Regions from separate parts of the Homo sapiens genome. Here all the other regions are linked to region 3. Evidence: promoter capture Hi-C in human tissues and cell types (Jung and others, 2019). All regions are on one chromosome and are shown on one strand. The core of a region is centred on a gene start or on the middle of the fragment in contact, and the rest is flanking DNA. Distances in the headings are between cores, read along the strand shown.

Region 1 (4,719 bases), core at 1,654-4,153, 670 kb after region 3:
TTTCACTCTTTCTTTGTATTTGGCAGAAAAAGTAGAAGTGTTACTTCTTTAAAAACTGTTCAATTGCTGTGCCTGCCTGAGGCCACATCTTTCTACATATACTTTAGGCAGGCAGATCACCTGAAGTCAGGAGTTTGAGACCAGCCTGGCCAACATGTTGAAACCCCATCTCTACTAAAAATACAAAAAAATTAGCCAGGTTTGCTGGTGCGTGCCTGTAATCCCAGCTACTCCAGAGGCTGAAGCAGGAGAATCGCTGGAACCCGGGAGGCAGAGGCTGCAGTGAGCCGAGATCACGCCACTCAACTGCAGCCTGGGCGACAGAGTGAGACTCTGTCTCAAAAAATATAAAATAAAATGCACATTTGTTCTTTTCAAGGAACTATCTTTGTCAACATCTGCAGAAAACTTTAATGAAACGTATCCAGTGATTACGTGGACTTCATTTGTACAGAAACTGCCAGGAACCCAGAAACACAGCTGCTTTCTTAACCTTATCAAAAATAAGAGTCACAGTGTCAGCATTTACCCGCCCCCCCGACAAAAAACACACACTTCTATTGATCTAGAAAGGTATTTATATTTTGATGACCCACAAGAAATATTTTTGGAAATAAAGTTTGGACTAGCTACCTATATATTACAGATCTGTTTTAATATTTACAACATAAATAAATAGATATTACCCTGTCCAAAACAAAAATAGCACTGACAAAAGATCGACATACTCAACAAGACCACACCCCAACAAAGGCCTGCAAACGTTGTATGTACAGGCTTTTGAGGAAAATGCAGCAGAAAAAATTAGCTTTAACAAGATAGAAACACAAACATATTTAATTTTAACTAAATAGAAGTCATTTGAATGTATTGAATAGTTGTTAATATTATTTTTAACAGCAAAGAAATAGCTGAATTTTATTTAAGAGCTAACTATGCTGCCAAAATACATGCAATTCTACCTGGTGCTTAAATGGTTCTTTTTCACCATCAATAGCTTGTAACCTAAACAATACCATATTTAAAATCTACATATCTACCATTCCATATCTAGAATGAGGTGCCGGGGTGGGAAAAGCATAACCCTTATTGTTGTAATGGTAAGGCAGACTAGCTCCCCATGCTAGCCATCCTTGTACGCTGCTGAGCCTGTGAATTTACCAGGAGGTGTTCTGCAGAAGACACCCCTCACTCTCTGCTAGCTAAATTTATGAAGCTCGTTCTTCCAAATTAAGGCCAAGATTTTTCTTACTACCCCTAGAAATCTCTCTTGTATTTTCTACGGCATGAAGTCTCATTTATTCATTCTGACTTAATTTCAACACCTCATTGTCTTCCAGGTTAGAGTGTCAACTTCTTACGTGCCAGACTTCATCTTACATTGTTTGTACTATGTTGAATCTAGGAAATTCTGGGCACCTAAATAGCCAACAGGTGGATAAGACACCGGTTGTATGTAGATCTTTTGTCAGTGCTATTTTTGTTTTGGACAGGGTAATGTCTATTAATTTATGTTGTAAATATTAAAACAGATTTGTAATATATAGGTAGCTAGTTCAAACTTTATTTCCTTACTGTGTTCTGAAAAGTTATTCTGGTTTAGAAGAGTCACAAGTAGAAAGGGACTGGATTCTGTAAGAATCTTTTACATATTTGTAATAATGCCTGAAATAAAATTGTATTTTAAGATGAAATTACGAAATATTTACAAGTGACTATTATTTGCTGTAGATAGAGTACCTTTGTTTCAATTATTCTGCCATGAAAGAAACAAGATTAATAACTAGGTAAGTGTCCTGTGAAATGTTTTAAACTTACAAATATGTCCTATTTAAAATTGATTACTTTCATAATTGTTAATTGATCAAAGCATTCATATTAAATAAGGTCTATAGAAACTTTTTGTTGTAGTCAGAGTAAGGAACTCAATTAGAGGCCCCCAAATGAAATTACTAATAAGCCCATCAACAAATTATTGTAACTGAACCCTTATCTTGGCAGCTGAGAATTAAAAGAAAAGTTATTTGAGGACAAGAGATATAATTTTTAAAATTACCAGAATTGACAGGTTCTGAGGTCCTCTAAGTCCCCCTTTCAGACAAAGGGCATTTATTTTGTTATCATTATTATTTAAGACATCTTTCTCTTTGAAGCCCTTGAAACTAATTTATTTCTTTCTCCCTCCTTTCCCTCCCTCCCTCCATCCGTCTGTCCCTTCCTCCCTTCCTGCCTTCCTCCGTTCATATTATTCTGATCTTCTGACTAGGGGAAAAATAAATAGACTATGCATCCCCAGCTCTTACATTATTAGGACACAATTCGTATTTCTTCAGGGTTTTTTTTTGAAAAATTTTTAAAAGAAGGAGAGTATGAAGATTAATCAAAATTATTATCTATTGAGTAGGCTGCAATCAGGGAATTATCCAAGGTGTACTTAGGAAGAGTCCAAGCTTTCTCACATTCAGTGGTCTCAAATTAGCAGCAGCAGCAGCATCACCTGGAAACTTGTTAGAAACACAATTTCCTGGGTCTCACTCCAGAGCTCCTGATTTAAAAATTCTGCAGGTAGAGCTCAGGAATCTATGTTTTCACAAGTCCTCTAGGTAATACTAAATGTATTTTAGAATCCAGTAATTTATTTCTGGGCAGAATAAAGGACATGGAAAGCCTCATTCAAAACCATTTTTTCTCACAAAAGTATGTAAAAATATGTTGGAAATGCAAATAGTATGGCTGATTGTAGAGGGAAATTAATACAATTTTGCTAGTTCAGGTCTGATTCTTCTATTTTGTTCCACATGATCGAGGTGATTCTACTCATCTCTTAACAGGACTAAAGATAGTATGTTGCCATATTAATTAGAGTTTGACTGCAATCAACATTTATTAAAGAGCATAGAACAAAATTCAAATAATTTATGCTTCTATAAAGGTATCTTTAGAATCTCGGGTGGAAAAGTTTGAGAAGGGATGAGTTATGGCAGAATTTTTTTTTTAATCTTTAGGTAATTTAGAAGCGGAATCACATATAAACATTTCCAAATTGTATTGAAATATGAACACAATTCCACTATCTTTCTCCCAGTAAAATTTAATAGTCATTTCTCTAAATTCCTTTTCTGTTATGGAATGCTCTCTGATTTACAGACATGTATTATGTATAACTAAGAATAGAGGCTTTCAGAAATTGTTGACTCTAACAAACAAACTTAAAAGTTCTTAACATACGGTTGTTGTTGATTGGATTTATCTATCATAACAAGAAACTAAGATAAGGTTTCATTCGGCAAAAAACACCATGAAGTATCATTTCATGGAAAGTCATTAGCTAAGACTAAAGTATGAAGTAACATGAGAAATGCAAATAACAGCAATATAAATAAACTATCAAATGTGAAAGCAAAATTGATGTGAAAATGCATGTAGCCTCAGTGTTCTTTCCTCATCCCCTTCCCTCCCCCTGTTTTTAAGGCAACATCAAAACAGTTACTTCTGAGAATATTTATAACCTGTCAAGAGAAAAGAGTAGAGACTATGTGGCTGTGCATCCCTGAAGGAAAATGTTCATTTCAAAGCACCATTGATGCAAATATTGCCTCTTTTCTGTTTTGCTGAATGGGTTGTTACGCTGATAAATTTAATTGTGTTAGAAACATAATTATCTAAAAGCCACTGGCATTAAAAACACCAGTGTACTTCTGTAATAGAATTATAGATGTGGGATCATCTTTAATATAGGGGACATGAGTCTTAATATGACTTGCTTTATTTTATTTTATTTTTTTTTAGATGGAGTCTCATGCTGTCGCCCAGGCTGGAGTGCAGTGGCAGGATTTTGGCTCACTGCAAGCTTCGCCTCCTGGGTTCACGCCATTCTCCTGCCTCAGCCTCCCGAGTGGCTGGGACTACAGGTGCCTGCCACCAGGCCTGGCTAATCTTTTTTAGTTTTTAGTAGAGACGGGGTTTCACCGTATTAGCCAGGATGGTCTCAATCTCTTGACCTCGTAATCCGCCCGTCTCAGCCTCCTAAAGTGCTGGGATTACAGGCGTGAGCCACCGCGCCTGGCACGACTGTTGCTTTTCATGTGAGGAAATAATAGCACGATAACAACAACAATAAAAATGCTTCAGAAGAAGTTTGATATGGTTGATGGGAGATAGTGGTAAGAGATTCTTGCAGATGAATATTGCTATTTCTACTAAGCTGTTAAAAACTTGAGACATGGCCGGGCGCGGTGGCTCACGCCTGTAATCCCAGCACTTTGGGAGGCCGAGGCGGGCGGATCACGAGGTCAGGAGATCGAGACCATCCCGGCTAAAACGGTGAAACCCCGTCTCTACTAAAAATACAAAAAATTAGCCGGGCGTAGTGGCGGGCGCCTGTGGTCCCAGCTACTTGGGAAGCTGAGGCAGGAGAATGGCGTGAACCCGGGAGGCGGAGCTTGCAGTGAGCCGAGATCCCGCCACTGCACTCCAGCCTGGGCGACAGAGCGAGACTCCGTCTCAAAAAAAAAAAAAAAAAACAAAAAAAAAAAAAAAAAAAAAAAAAAACTTGAGACATGTCTAAATCTTCATTGTCACACACACACACACACACACACACACACAAACACACAATTTCCTCCCATTGGTTTTCATTTGGTTGTATTTACTGTACACTGAGATTTAAAAAAAATATATATGAAGTGGCAAAATACCTCTGCAAACAAACAAAACAAG
Region 2 (4,735 bases), core at 1,143-3,642, 800 kb after region 3:
CTCAAGCCTTGCTAAACAAACACATTAATTTTATTAATATTTTAAATTTCATTTTACTTTGGTAGATACGATTATGTCATCTGCAAATAAAGAGTGTTTTACTGCTTTCCTATGCAGATATCTTTTATTTGTTTTATTTTTATTTTTATTTTTTGGCACTGGCCGTCACCTCCAGTATAGTGAAGAACAGAAATGGTAAGACCAGTCCTGATCTTAGTGGCGAAACATGCCGTCTTTTACCATTGTGTGTAGTATAAGCTGTTGGTTTGTTGCAAAAGTTCTTTATCTAAATTCAGGGCATTATGGTCTATTTCTGGTTTGCTGAGAGGTTTTATTAGGAATGGATGTTTGAACTGCATCAAAGGCTTTTTTTCTTAATATGATATATAATATCAATTGATCTTTTAATGTTAGACTAAACTTGCAGTCTTGAAATAAATATTACTTAGTAATTATATTATCCTTTTAATATATTTTGCATTATATGTGCTACATTCTATCAAGCATTAAAGCACAGTTCTGAACTCCAATTTTCTTTTCTTCTAATGCCTTTGTCTGTGTTTGTTATCAGGGTTATGATGTTCTCACAGAATAAATTGAAGATTATTTGCTCCTCTTTAATTTTCTGCAAGAATCTTTATAGAATTGCTATTATTCTTTAAAAGTTTGATTGAATTCACCAGTATATCCTATGGGTTTTAAGTTATATTTGTGGGAAGCTTTTAACTAGATTTAATTTCTATAGTATATATAGCAATACACATGTGATCTATTTCTTTTTGAATGATCTTTGGTACTTTGTGTTTTTTAGGGTATTTGTCTATTCCATCTAAGTTGAAGTTACTGACAAAACATTCATAATGTTTCCTTATATCCTTTATTATGTCTGTGGAATTTCAATCTGTATTGGTCTCAACTCTTATTCTTGATATTAATAGTTCATTTTTCCCTCTGATTAGTCTGACTAGATAATTATCAAGTATTCTGATTTTCTCAAAGAACCATATTTTTAAAATTTATTTTTCACTTTTTTTGTCTATGTCATTGATTTCTGCTTTAACATTATTATTATTTATTATTTACTTTGGGAATAAATTGCTTTTTTTCTAGTGTCTTAGGGTGAAAGCTACTATTTTTGATTTTGAGATGTGTGTTCTTTCCTAATATAGACATTTTATTCTGTAAAATTTTCTCTAAATACTACTTTGTAGGCAACTAACAAACGTACATATGCTATGTTTTTCATTGTTATTCAGCTTAAAATACTTCATAATTTCCTTTGTGTTTTTTTCTTTGCCATAAAAATTATTTAAAAGTATGGTATTTAGTTTCCAAATATCTAGATATCTTTCAGATAGCATTTTAATATTACTTCTAATTTAAATCCATTGTGGTGAGAGAGCATACTTTTCATGACTTTAATCTGTATAAATTTTTTGAGATTTATTTCAGTTCCCAAATGGAATACCTTGGCAAAAGTTCTCTGATACTTGAAAAGAATGAATATTCTGCTGTTGTTGGTGTGGCGTTCTATAAATGTCAGTTAGATTCAGTTGGTTGATAATGTGGTACAAATATTCCCCAATTTGAAAATATTGTGTCTGTTTGTTCTATTTAATATTGAACCTCTAACTCTAGTTATGGATTAGTCTATTTCTCCTTGCTGTTCTACAACTTTTTGCTTCATGTATTTTAAACTCTATTATTAGTGCAAAAAATATTTGAGATTTTATATCCTCTTGATGAGTTGACCTCTTTATAATTATAAAATGCCCTTTTCTAATTTCCATTAATTATCTTGGTTTTGCAATATACAATATCTGATATTAATATAGCAACTCCAGTTTTAGCATGGTATATCTTTTTCTGTCCTTTTACTTTTAACATCTTTATGTTTGCACATTTAATATGGGCTTCAATTAGACAGCATCATAGAGATGGCTGTTGAATTTTTATTCAGTCTGACAGTCTCCACCTTTTAATTGGGATGTTTAGACCATTTACATTTAATGTGATTATTGACACATCTAGGCACAGCTCCTCAGGGTCCTTTCTTTGTTGAACAGGATGTGCTTTATATTTGGATTATGAATAATTGACTGTGTGAGAGAAAGTTGGGTTTTAGAAAAAACCCAGGCAAAAACTTCCAGCAATTTCTTTAATAACCCTATACTCTTTAATTCTATCTAATAGTCAAGCCAGGCTACGTGATAAGATATACCAGGTAAAAGTCATCAGTTCATACATTTCTTCAAAAATGTAGCCAAATAGTCCTGAATGCCTCCAAGGAGTTTCAAACTTTAAACAGCATATTATAAGTCACCAACTAGTCAATATCAGACTTAAAAGTATCCCAACAGACAAACATAGAGCTCCCAGGTCTTTTCTATTTCAGACACTAGGAGCAAAACATATATGCTTTCAAAATAAAGTAATATGTTAGTTGCAGCTAATTTGTAGCTACCTTTTTTCATTCATAGGATTTTTATTTGAGACTTTATAGAAAGAATATATATATATATATATATATATATATATCTCATGAGAGCATATATCTATAGCTATCTACTATACATAGATTTTGCCAACTATGGTTGGTGAAAACAACAACTCTTCTGAGTGCTGAAAGACATATAGTGAATGTTTTGCTTCAGCAGTCTGGAAAACTTGAACTCTTTCTTCATAACCAGCGAACACTTCTGGGTTTCACCTGAGGTTCCTCTTTTTATGCTGTACCTGGAAACTCTCTTCAGGCATTAATTAGGGAAAATCATAGTCACTTCATTATTTAATTTATTCCATGAATCACTGTACTGTGCTCTCTGTTCAAAGTCTGAAGTCTGTTTTTTTTTTTTTTTAAATATTTGTTCTTTAGTTTTATTGTTGTGTATGGTGGGAAGGTAAAATATATGCCAATTGCTCCATCTTTGCCAGAGTGAAAATCCACATTCCAGTCTTCTTATGCTTACTGTTTACATGGTATATCTTTTTTACCTCATCATTCAATTGTATCCTGTTTGTTTTCTTATATTTAATAAGTATCTCTAGTAATCAGTATATAATTGTGTCTCATATATTTTGACAATCCTTGTCTTTCAATTAGGGTGTTTATATCATTAGTAATTTAATTACTGATAAGTTTGGATTGTCATCCATAATTTACTATTTTATCTATTTGTACCATTTTCCTGCATTTCTCTGTTTCTCCTTCCCTTTCTTATTTTAGTTGATGTAAATATTTTTAGAGTTCCAAGCAACTTAACATTTGGCCTTTAGCTATACCATTTTACCTTTTTATTTTATATTGATTGCTCTTTCATTCTTATTTTGTTCACCAATCTAGTAATTTGTATGCAAATTTTTACATTTTACCTTTTTATTTTATATTGATTGCTCTTTCATTCTTATTTTGTTCACCAATCTAGTAGTTTGTATGCAAATTTTTACAGCTTTCTTCTCAAATACACAAGCATTATTGTAAAGACGCAAGAATTGTAAAAACTCAGGGAAATACAACAACACCAAAAGACACCAACAAAGCTTCAGCAATGGACCAAGAAAGATTGAAGACCTATAAAATATCTGACAGATAATTATTTTAAAAAGTACAACAATTGTCTTTTTTTCCAACTTAACAGGTTTTTAAAAAATGTTTAAGTTCAGGGGTACAAATGTAGGTTTGTTACACAGGTAAACTTGCGCCATGGGGGTTTGTTGTAGAGATTATTTCATTGCCCCAGGTATTAAGCCTAGTACCCATTAGTTGTTTTTCCTGATTCTCTCCCTCCTCCACCCTCCAAAAGGCCCCAGTGTGTGCTGTTCCCCTCTATGTGTCTATGTCTTCTCATCATTTAGCTCCCACTTATAGGTCAGCACATGCAGAATTTGGTTGTATATTCCCATGTTAGTTTGCTAGGGATACTGGCCTCTAGCTGCACTCATGACCCTGCAAAGGACATGATCTTATTCTTTTTTATGGCTGCATGGTATCCCATAGTGTATATGTATCACATTTTCTTTATCCAGTCTATCACTAATGGGCATTTAGGATGATTCCATGTCTTTGCTATTGTATATAGTGCTGCAATGAACATATGCATGCATGTGTCTTTATAATACAATGATCTATATTCCTTTGGGCATATACCCAGTAATGGGATTGTTGGGTCAAATGGTATTTCTGTATTTAGGTCACTGAGGAATTACCACACTGTCTTCCACAATGGCTGATCATTAATTAATGTTTTATTAAAGTTGAAGAGATTTAATAAGTAGTATAATGTTTGGCCTTGAATAATTAAATTAGTAGATAGTATTTAACATTGCATTGACTAATTTAATGATTCAAATTTTCTTTTTAAATCCTTCAAGTACTAAACAGATCTAACATATGATCCTTACAAGAATATATTACCTAAACATTTATGCAAGCCTTTTAAATAAACTAAACAGCACACTAAAGTCTAAATATTCTAATATTATTTACAAAATTATTCACATTTTCTTACCTTCTTTAATATCAAATAAGAAAACCATTTTCCTATTTTACAGGAATTACAAGTCTAATATCTCAGTGGACTAATGTGCCAGATGTGTTTAATTTTGCCTCATTATGCACAAATACACACATACTATCCTGACTCTTACATGGAAATAATTATATTATAAATTTTATATACCTTTCTACAATTATATTTACATTTTTATCTTCCCAAGGTTGTAATGTTACTAACCC
Region 3 (4,348 bases), core at 556-3,055:
GTGTAATAGAGTCTGGTAAACTTGTTTAATCTTCATTTTGGAATGCAGTACTTACATATTTTTAAAAAATGTTTGCCTTTTGTGATTATTAGATAATTACTGAGTTGTGTTGTGAAATTGAGGAAAAATCAGGATCTTTGATAGATTTGTAGAATTTTAGAAATATCTTTAAGTTCTTGAGCCCTGAGTTGCTGTTCTATGATTGTTGCTAAAATAGTTTATTTGGTTTATCTGTGCCCTGCACACACATATAGTGGCGGTAGTTCATTACTGCATATTAATATAGCCTGGAAGCATAGTAGCTACATTTATATTTAATTTTTTGACCTTGTATTGCCATTTGTGGATATTTTTGTATCAAAGTATTTCCATATTATGTTTTTGAATTTCACTTCTGAAATGATAATCAGAGACAACGTTAAATTTGATCATTTGGAATCAGTCTTTTACATAAAATGTAAGCTATTTAAAATAGTTAATTTTTAAAGCCACTATTGATGTCCCTTTGTTTAAAGTTCTATTCATGGTCACTATAATAACACGAGGCTCTATTGTGGGGTTATGCATAAACTCACACTACCTTATGTGATCTTATGTTAATGCTTTCCTTTTAGTATCTTCTTGTAGCTTGGTAATATTTAAAATTTGTTGATACTCTCTTTGGTTGTGTTCATTATCTTCATTTAGGGAGATGTTGGGGAAGATTTTGTTACTAAAAGCTGTTACATATTAAGGTTTTGTTTTAAAAGGACTTTGAAAAAAAAACTCTTAAGGTTTTCCTTGCTACTATTTAATGAAATTTCACTGCATTGTGTCTTTTGATAGCCATTTTTAAGAGAGCATTTAATTTACTAGATAAGGATTCAGTTTGACCTAATTTGATAGAATATTGCTGTGTTTTTTGTAAAGGGCTACAGATTTTTTTTTAAGTTTAATTTCTTAAGGAATCCTTTAAACACATCTTCTTCTTATTTGCCTTTTCCCTCTGATGTCTATTACCCAGAATTACTCCAAGCTACATATTTAGCTGCATAAAGCAGTGACAGCTTGTCTTCTAAACAATGACAAATTTTAAAATCAGATATTAAGAAACCTTTTCATAGTTTCAAGGGCAGTGAGCTGTATGAACTTGCTTATCAGGTATTAGTGCCTCCAGGGCTATAAAAAGGTAACACATTTAAATGACTATCATACACAAGATATTGACATACCTTCCTTGGTCAGGCCATTTATGTGAAGAGGATTATGCCCACTGAAAATACTTTTGGCACGCCATCACTTCAGCAAAAAAGATGCTATCGAACATGCGCACATCCCCCAACAGTCTGCCTCCTGCGATTGCTTTTCACAGTATCCAAAGTGTCCATCTGTCTGCTTGTCTTCGAGTTACCCTCCTTGTTCATATGGGTCCTAGTCTTCTGAAATTTTCCCTTTCTTTCATTTTCTCTCTTTCGTTAAACAAAAGAGCTGTAGTTGCCCGTTCTGCTTGTAGCACTGTTGACTCTTCCCGACAGTTGATGCATTGAAGCTTTTTACATCTGCTATTTTCCTGGCTGGACAATGCAGTGCTGTGTTCTCGTCTCAGTATCCATATTTCTACTAATAACACTGAGCTGCAATGTAAAGCAGCCAGAGCTAAAATGTAGTGCTTCAGTTGTATTGGAAAAGAATAGGATTTACCTCTCTTCTTTCGTTGTTGCCTGGCAGCTGCAGGAAGGATTTTGAGCAGTTTTAATGGGGTTTTAGTCTATAATATGAAATCCACGGTTCCTCAGCTGCTGCACAGGCAGGCAGCAGTTTAAATGTGGGCTTGACAGATGCTCTCTCTGACAGAGCAGAATTTAACGTCACTGCTTGGCTGAATCCCACGTGATTGTTTGCATTCATTTTGACTAAAAACCTAAGGTAGGGAGAAGCTTAGAGATTTTGCTTTTATGTGATAAATTATATATGTTGAATGCAAGTGTAGTGATGAGTGAATAATTTGAAAATGTGATGATTATGAAATGGTTATGATTTTATTTTTTCCAGCTTACTTCCTTTTTTAACTTTATTCTTAAGTACAGGCTTTCTAAGTGTTTTCTGTGTTAGATGTTGGTTTTCATGTTTCTTACATGCTTTTGTAGGGTGTAAGCAGTATAAGCTTTTGTGTGTAAGTTGGTGTAATTTAACCCCTTCAGTGCATTCTCTTCTTGAAGTTTTTTTTCTCTGCTTTCAAATTGCTCTTGATTTTTTACTAATATGTAGTTAAGACCTATGGTTTCTATTGAAACCATGTATCTTTGTAATTTAGATCCCCCCCCCCGTTTTCTGGGGTTTGTATAAATAAGCTGTCTTGGATTACTTTACTAATGCATGATGTGATACAGCCCACTTCTTTTTTGCTCTTATGTGGTTTTTGGTGTTCTTGATGGCAGAAAACTTTATTTTAAATCACTTTTTAATGTTGTCATTTATTTTTTATTTATTTTTCCTTCCCTTTAAAATTACATGTATCGTAGAATTCAGTAAAATGATGTAATAGATATAGCACACTTGTACAGGATCTGGGGGTAATGAGATTTTACTAATTATGTTTACTTATTCTAATGTTTCAGAAAGATTTAATAACTTGCCATGAGGCAGATTTTATTAACACTACACACTCACTGAGATTTTTCTAATATGGTTAGTTTCTGGGGCTGGCACCTTCTTTTCTTACTGCAGAGCAGTAGGGAAGGTTTTTTTAAATTTTTTGTTGTAGTAAAAAGCCTTTATTATCAGTTTTTCCTCTGTGACTCTAGGGACAGTAATTCAGTCCTAGAAAGTTATAGTTTTGGAGCTTAAGCTAAAGGTTAACAGTTATATACATATTCTTCATCTCACTGCCTCCACCATTAATATATGCTATTTCAAATGAATATGAATTTGTTTTCTCTGATATTAAAAAAAATTTTGTCCACATATTTTTGAGCTTTGCTGATGAAATGTGCTTTGTAGTTTTAAGAACCCCACTGTATTAGAAATGTTAGAAGGATCGTTAAAGAAAAAAAAGAATTTTATAAATAGGAAACCTAAAGCCTAGACTGAGCTTTGACTTTTCCTAGTTAAGTTTGAAGGAGAGGACTAAAACCCAACTTCCTTGTAGTCTATATCCACCCATACTGCAATTCTCACTCACTACCGTTTTGTTTTTAAAATTAGTTTACTAGTTAACAGAGTAATGCTTAAGAACTTACTTAAAATAACTTATTTTCCAGAAGTACAGATGTGTTTTTGTAGATCAGTATTTATTTATCAGTGATTCTTTACATAGGATTTGACTATGAAGCTAGCCACAATGACCATTTATGGAGTATTTACTGAAAATCAGATTGCGTGCTAAGCTTACTTGAGCTGTTATGCAAATGGCTCTTTTCTAATAATTTTATTATTGTAATACCCACTTAAAAGATGCAGAACCAGTGCCTGGAGTTGTAAAATAGTCCAAATGTCAGATAAATACTGATAAGAATAGAGGCCAAGCTGGGAATTGAAGCAAGATTATCTAAATTCTTATCCTCTGTGTTTTTGTTTTCTTTTTAAATCTATCTAGTACTATCATTATTCTCTGTTCTTAAACTTTTTATTACATGGCACTGCTAGAGAAATTGTGGGATTTTTTTTTTTTCTGAACACTGGCGCAGCATACCCAGGAATCATTAATAGAATAATAAATGAATGTTTATATTTTCACTTTTTCAACAGGTACATATTGATTAACTACTGTGTACCAACATGTGCATTTAGGCATAGCTTATTAAGTATAGGGGATACAAAGTTGATTTAGAGACATTCCCTACCCCTTTCTCCAGGAAAGGACTAAATAATTATTATTCTTTTGCCAGTTCTTTTGATTGGATTTTTTTAATGTCTCCCTGGATTATTATAGATTTTGATTATTAAGAGAGTTATATGGGTAACGTATTCATTAGTGGGTCCCTCCAGTATCGGATTGAGTCCCTGAATTTCCAGTGGGACCCCCCCGCCCCGAACTGCTTGTTATGGGACAAGTATTTAAACAGCAAGAAACTTCCAAATATTACTAACAAAAGGTGCCTATGTACTTAACTGGAATTTACTTCATACTTTAAAAGTACAGCTGCAACCTCTTTCTTTCTGTCTGTCTGTTTTTTTTTTTTTTTGGAGACAGAGTTTTGCTCTATTGCCCAGGCTGGGGTACAGTGGCACGATCTTGTCTCACTGCAACCTCTGCTTCCCAGGTTCAAGAGATTCTCGTGCTTCAGCCTGCCGAGTACCTGGGATTACAGGCGTGTGCCACCACACCCGGCTAATTGTTGTATTTTTACTAGAAGTGAGGTTTTACTAT

What was found. The method cuts DNA at HindIII sites, captures the fragments that hold promoters and counts their contacts. A contact is called where the count stands out against the background at its distance.
Region 1: a contact is called between a fragment that was not itself captured here and the fragment with the promoter of B3GALT2 in region 3, in 2 of the 25 tissues and cell types used here (heart left ventricle and thymus).
Region 2: a contact is called between a fragment that was not itself captured here and the fragment with the promoter of B3GALT2 in region 3, in 1 of the 25 tissues and cell types used here (mesenchymal stem cells).

Annotation. Positions count from the first base shown.
Region 1 is chr1:193,857,878-193,862,596 of GRCh38, forward strand. All of the region lies in intron 3 of LOC124904475 (a long non-coding RNA gene), which reads left to right. Among named protein-coding and RNA genes, the nearest start is that of LINC01031, 560 kb to the left of the region's middle. The HindIII fragment of the contact is 4,838 bases long and covers 485-4,719 here.
Region 2 is chr1:193,982,636-193,987,370 of GRCh38, forward strand. The region is part of intron 5 of LOC124904475 (a long non-coding RNA gene); the gene reads left to right. Among named protein-coding and RNA genes, the nearest start is that of LINC01031, 680 kb to the left of the region's middle. The HindIII fragment of the contact is 4,934 bases long and covers 1-4,735 here.
Region 3 is chr1:193,184,808-193,189,155 of GRCh38, forward strand. It overlaps B3GALT2 (beta-1,3-galactosyltransferase 2), which reads right to left and starts at 1,806. Exons shown (of 2, transcript NM_003783.3): 1 at 1,212-1,806. All of the region lies in intron 10 of CDC73 (cell division cycle 73), which reads left to right. The HindIII fragment of the contact is 2,577 bases long and covers 178-2,754 here.